Linked DNA regions of Homo sapiens: region 1 is linked to region 2. The links are contacts of gene promoters, found by promoter capture Hi-C in human tissues and cell types (Jung and others, 2019). All regions are on one chromosome and are shown on one strand. Each heading gives the region's core, a stretch centred on a gene start or on the middle of the fragment in contact. The rest is flanking DNA. Distances are from core to core; before and after follow the strand shown. Region 1 has its middle 29 kb from the start of PRSS23. Region 2 holds the start of CCDC81 (coiled-coil domain containing 81).

The links. Contacts are between HindIII fragments. The study calls those that stand out against the background at their distance.
Region 1: a contact is called between a fragment that was not itself captured here and the fragment with the promoter of CCDC81 in region 2, in 1 of the 25 tissues and cell types used here (IMR-90 fibroblasts).

What each region holds. Positions count from the first base shown.
Region 1 is chr11:86,828,080-86,831,411 of GRCh38, reverse strand. It overlaps a transcript of PRSS23 not described here. Among named protein-coding and RNA genes, the nearest start is that of PRSS23, 29 kb to the right of the region's middle. The HindIII fragment of the contact is 4,294 bases long and covers 1-3,332 here.
Region 2 is chr11:86,372,949-86,376,386 of GRCh38, reverse strand. It overlaps CCDC81 (coiled-coil domain containing 81), which reads right to left and starts at 1,500. Exons shown (of 15, transcript NM_001156474.2): 1 at 1,145-1,500. The coding sequence starts at 1,223. The region is part of intron 2 of LOC105369421 (a long non-coding RNA gene); the gene reads left to right. RefSeq lists a silencer at 1,466-1,760. The HindIII fragment of the contact is 17,191 bases long and covers 1-3,438 here.

The DNA of each region.
Region 1 (3,332 bases), core at 206-2,705, 460 kb before region 2:
CCACTAGGATATTACAAAAAATATCACAGGGTGTACACACCCTGTGACATGAGGAGTAACAACTTTCTAGGATATTACGAATAATACAAAAAGGTGTAAACCCGCTATGACATTAGGAGTAATATTCCCTTAGGATATTACGAATAATACAAAAAGGTGTAAACCCGCTATGACATTAGGAGTAATATTCCCTTAGGATATTATGAATAATATCGCAGGGTGTACAAGCATTGTGACATTAGTAATAACATCCTGCTAGGATATAAAAAATAATATCACGGAGTGTACACCTTCTGTGACATTAGGAATAACATCCGCCTAGGATATTACGAATAGTATTACAAGTTGTAAACCCCGTTGACATTAGGAGAAACATCCCCCTAGGATATTCCAAATAATATCACTGGGTGTACACGCCTGTGACATTAGGAGTAACATCCGTGTAGCACATTATGTATAATATCACAGTTTGTAAACCCCCTGTGACTTTAAAAGTAACATCCCCATAGAATATTTCAAATGATGTCACAGGGTGTACACCCCTGATGACATTAGGAGGAACATCTCCCTAGGATATCATGAATAATATCACAGGGTGTACACCCAGTGAGATATTAGGAGTAATATCTTCCTAGGATATTACAAATAATGTTAAAGGGTGTACACCTCTGTGATATTAGTAGTAATGTCTCCCTAGGATATTACGAATAATATTACGGGGTGTATAGCCCCTGTGATATGAGGAGCAACACTTCTATAGGATATTACAGAGTCAAGCCAAGATGGCCGAATAGGAACAGCTCTGGTCTACAGCTCCCAGCATGAGCGACACAGAAGATGGGTGATTTCTGCATTTCCATCTGAGGTACCAGGTTCACCTCACTAGGGAGTGCCAGACAGTGGGCACAGGTCAGTGGGTGCAGTGCACCATGTGCGAGCTGAAGCAGGGCGAGGCACTGCCTCACTTGGGAAGCGCAAAGGGTCAGGGAGTTCCCTTTTCTAGTCAAAGAAAGGGGTGACAGATGGCACCTGGAAAATCGGGTCACTCCCACCCTAATACTGCGCTTTTCCGACAGGCTTAAAAAACGATGCACAAGGAGATTATATCCCGCACCTGGCTCGGAGGGTCCTATGCCCATGGAGTCTCGCTGATTGCTAGCACAGCAGTCTGAGATCAAACTGCAAGGTGGCAGTGAGGCTGGGGGAGGGGCGCCCACCATTGCCCGGGCTTGCTTAGGTAAACAAAGCAGCTGGGAAGCTCGAGCTGGGTGGAGCCCACCACAGCTCAAGGAGGCCTGCCTGCCTCTGTAGGCTCCACCTCTGGGGGCAGGGCACAGACAAACAAAAAGACAGCAGTAACCTCTGCAGACTTAAATGTCCCTGTCTGACAGCTTTGAAGAGAGCAGTGGTTCTCCCAGCACGCAGCTGGAGATCTGAGGACGGGCAGACTGCCTCCTCAAGTGGGTCCCTGACCCCTGACACCCGAGCAGCCTAACTGGGAGGCACCCCCCAGTAGGGGCAGACTGACACCTCACACGGCCAAGTACTCCTCTGAGACAAAACTTCCAGAGGAACGATCAGACAGCAGCATTCGTGGTTCACGAAAATCCCCTGTTCTGCAGCCACCGCTGCTGGTACCCAGGCAAACAGGGTCTGCAGTGGACCTCTAGCAAACTCCAACAGACCTGCAGCTGAGGGTCCTGTCTCTTAGAAGGAAAACTAACAAACAGAAAGGACATCCACACCAAAAACCCATCTGTACATCACCATCATCAAAGACAAAAAGTAGATAAAACCACAAAGATGGGGAAAAAACAGAGCAGAAAAACTGGAAACTCTAAAAAGCAGAGCACCTCTCCTCCTCCAAAGGAACGCAGCTTCTCACCAGCAACGGAACAAAGCTGGACAGAGAATGACTTTGACGAGTTGAGAGAAGGCTTCAGACAATCAAACTATGAGCTACAGGAGGAAATTCAAACCAAAGGCAAAGAAGTTGAAAACTTTGAAAAAAATTTAGACGAATGTATAACTAGAATAACCAATACAGAGAAGTGCTTAAAGGAGCTGACGGAGCTGAAAGCCAAAGCTCGAGAACTACATGAAGAATGCAGAAGCCTCAGGAGCCGATGTGATCAACTTGAAGAAAGGATATCAGTGATGGAAGATGAAATGAATGAAATGAAGCGAGAAGGGAAGTTTAGAGAAAAAAGAATAAAAAGAAACGAACAAAGCCTCCAAGAAATATGGGACTATGTGAAAAGACCAAATCTACATCTGACTGGTGTACCTGAAAGTGACGGGGAGAATGGAACCAAGTTGGAAAATACTCTGCAGGTCATTATCCAGGACAACTTCCCAATATAGCAAGGCAGGCCAACATTCAGATTCAGGAAATACAGAGAACGCCACAAAGATACTCCTCGAGAAGAGCAACTCCAAGACACATAATTGTCAGATTCACCAAAGTTGAAATGAAGGAAAAAATGTTAAGGGCAGCCAGAGAGAAAGGTTGGGTTACCCACAAACGGAAGCCCATCAGACTAACAGCGGATCTCTCGGCAGAAACTCTACAAGCCAGAAGAGAGTGGGGGCCAATATTCAACACTCTTAAAGAAAAGAATTTTCAACCCAGAATTTCATATCCAGCCAAACTAAGCTTCATAAGTGAAGGAGAAATAAAATACTTTACAGACGAGCAAATGCCGAGAGATTCTGTCACCACCAAGCCTGCCCTAAAAGAGCTCCTGAAGGAAGCACTAAACATGGAAAGGCACAACCGGTACCAGCCGCTGCAAAATCATGCCAAATTGTAAAGACCATTGAGGCTAGGGAGAAACTGCATCAACTAACAAGCAAAATAACCAGCTAACATCATAATGACAGGATCAAATTCACACATAACAATATTAACTTTAAATGTAAATGGACTAAATGCTCCAATTAAAAGACACAGACTGGCAAATTGGATAAAGAGTCAAGACCCACCAGTGTGCTGTATTCAGGAAACCCATCTCATGTGCAGAGACACACACAGGCACAAAATAAAAGGATGGAGGAAGATCTACCAAGCAAATGGAAAACAAAAAAAGGCAGGGGTTGCAATCCTAGTCTCTGATAAAACAGACTTTAAACCAACAAAAATCAAAAGAGACAAAGAAGGCCATTACGTAATAGTAAAGGGATCAATTCAACAAGAAGAGCTAACTATCCTAAATATATATGCACCCAATACAGGAGCACCCAGATTCATAAAGCAAGTCCTGAGTGACCTACAAAGAGACTTAGACTCCCACACAATAATAATGGGAGACTTTAACACTCCACTGTCAACA
Region 2 (3,438 bases), core at 251-2,750:
ACCTCTTTCCTTTATAATGACCCAGTCTGGGATAGTATCTTCATAGCAGTGTACAAATAAACTAATATATTGTCCCTCCTTCTTAATTTACTGTGAATCTACAACTACCCTAAAAAATCATCTTTAAAAAAAGTTCTTACTGTACCATTTACCTCCTCCCTGGTATCATTTACCTAAATTGTAAATTTGCATTGATTTGTGTGATTATTTGATTAATGTGCATCTTCCCCACTAAACAGTAAATTCCAAGATGTTTGTTCACCGTAAGTTAACTAGTGCTCAGCATATAGCAGGGTTTCAGAATTCCTTGAATGACTATACATAAATTTACAAATATAGCAAATGTTTTTAAATTCATTAAGCCATTATCTTCAATGCATCTTTCAGGATGATTTGAGAGGAAAAGATAGGAGTGATGCAGGGGAAGAGAAAGAAGCAGCCATTCCTATTTGTTTTCTGCGGTCATTTGGTTAAAGCCTAAGCAACATCTCTAAGTTACAATGGTTTGATAATAATGAGTTTGCATTCCTGCAGCACCTCTCTTCTCCTGTGGTTTGCAGACAGATCTCAGCCTCACTTTGGGGTGACTCTTCTACAAACGATGCTAAAAACAGATCTTGTCTTGCTACTAACCAAGCCTAATGAGTTTTCTCTGAGAAGGTGCCAGGTCCCCTTCCAAAGTACTTACCCTGTAGCTTTTTATGATCATCTCATTTTCTTAATACAACGGCATGATGTCAAAGGCAACAAAATCAACCGTCTTTGCATGAACTCTCAAAAGGAGCCATTTAGGGTCCCTGCATCTCTTTTCTCTAGGTAGGCAAAAGGGTTGTGATCCATCCCAGCGAGTGGTGTGGGAGTGGCTGTTTTTACCTAACCTTTATTGAGCACTTACTTTGTGCTAGTCCGTTTATTGAGCACTTACTTTGTGCTGTCTACGCATCCCCTGGTTTAATCAAAACCAGAAAAGGGTCTCTGGGCGTCCAACGTGGGCAGGATGTGATTACCAGCTGGTTGTCAAGGCAACTTAGCCACGGCAGGCCAGGCCTGAGCCAGGGAATTGGGAAGTGGGTCCCCCCGCCTCCCCTGCAAGCAGATGAAGATTCAATCCCCAGGGCCACCCCCTGCTACCCAACACGCTTACCCTCCTGGCTCAGCGAGGGCAGAGTGGGCAGCACCTGCCTGCCCAGGTCCTGCAGGGCACGGGCGATCGTATCCAACATCTCCAATTTCCAGGTGACTCCGTACTGAATGTTCGATGGGTCTCTTCTTTCTTATATGGAATGTGCACAAAAATAATTTTCCCACCCTCCAGCCCCTTCTCCACGGAGCTTTGGATGTGCCTTAAAAATAAGAGTGACGAAAATCTTGAACTTCTTGACTCTTTTTCTTCTTTCTTAAATAAACTTAAACATTGGTTCTCGCCGTCCCTCCCCACTGCTCTGGCTCTCGGGCAGCTCCCACAGCAAGAGCCGCAGGAACTGATGTCCGGCACCGAGTGAGAGTGTGCAGACCCGCGCCCTCCTGACCAACGAGAGACCCAATGAGGGGTGAGCTGCAGCCTCGAGGAAGGGAGGGGCACCAGGGAGAATAGGCCCGGCAGAGGGAAGGGCGCGTTGCTGGGACGCGAGAAAGGCTCGCTCGGTTGCTAAGGCGTCAAGGCTGGGATTCGACCTCACCCCCTTAGATGGGCGGCTTCCAGGTTGCCCAGGCGATTCAGAAGCTCGAGGCAGCGAGGTTGGAAGTAACTTAAAAATAAATAAATAATGGGTTTTTACTTCTCTGACCCCGGGCAGCGAAGAAACGTGGTTAGAGTGGTAGTTTTTGTACCTTGGACAAATCTAGGAATGCCTTTTGCCCAGAGAGATCGATATTTGAGTCTCCAGATCTGTTTGAGAGTTTGAGTTTGAGCTGGAATTTGTTTCTTGGTTTGCTTTTCCCTGGGCTCTCTTCCTAGGAAATGGAGAGCTGGAGAAGTGGGGAGGAGGGAATTGACTTTTTTTAAACTACAGTCATTTCCCCCTTTTCTCTACATGTCACCAATCTCATCCTGAAGAATTGCGTGCATGCTCTCCCCTCTGCTGGTAATTATCACAAGCTGAACATACCTATGCAAAACCCATCCAGGTCAAAAAATAGAATGCTAGCACATTGCACAGATCAGCACTTCATTACCCCTCCAGTCATTAGCCAACACATACTGCAGATTCATTTTGCCTGTTGAATCTTTGGAATCATATAGTATGTATCCTTTTCTGTCTGGCTCTATTCAAATTCACATTATGTTTATGAGGTTCATCCATAGTTTCTATGGTAATAATTTCTTCATTTACACTGTTGCATATTATTCCTTTTTATGAGTATGGCACAATTTATGCATTCCACTGTTGAAGGGCATTTGCGTTGTTTCCCTTTGAGGCTACTGGGAATAAGGCTGCTGCAAACAGTCTCACAGAACACTTTTGACAGATAGATGTACTCATTTCTGATGTGTATATAACTAGGAGTAGATTCATGGGTCATGAGAAATGCATATGATCAATTTTAATAGATAATGCCAGCTAATTTTTAGTGGCAATATCAGCATTATTGTTCCACATTAAGATAATGGAATTATAAAAATAATTGTTTTACAATACATTAGATTTTGAATTAAATATAGTGGTACTTTTAATCTCTAGAAAAGCTGTCTTCAGTTCCAGAAGATGGTGGTGGATGCTAATTATTAGTGAATTGTAGATGGCTAAAGGAAGCTGTAAAAAGAATAAGGACAAAGACTTTTCTTCCAAGGTTTTACTTTCCTTTTGTCAAAGGTCTCTTGACAAAAGAGGCTGTGTAGATACATGTAACCCTGTGTTGACTAGAAACTTTTAATGAGCTATAAATATTATATATCCTGAAAATACATACTTTTCAGTTGCTATTAAAACTCAGGCAAACTATGTACTTCCACTGCTACAAATTTGGATATATTTGGATATAAAATTGGATGTATTAGCATGATACATACAAAGATATATGTATATGCAACATTGTTTATAATGTTAATTCTTAGAATTAGCCTAAGATGACCATCATAGGGAACTGGTTAAATTGTGAATACATACATTGGAATACATTTCAAGAGTTTACTTAAAAGGAAACTGCACATTTACGTGCTGATGTTGAAAAAGTTTCAAAATATAGTAAGTGAAAACCAGTAGCAGCATAGTATTTTTATATAATGTAATCCTGTTTCCTTCAAATATAAGTATATAAGTATGCATACGTATTCATATATATTTTTGTAAACATATGGGATATTTGAGGAAAGATACATACACAAAAATATTAACAGTGGAATTTTGGATCAGGCAAAATTTTGTATGGTGGAGGAGGCATTCCAAGAACTTTTATATTCACTTTTCTCCTTTATTTACTGTTTAACAAGGGCATGAA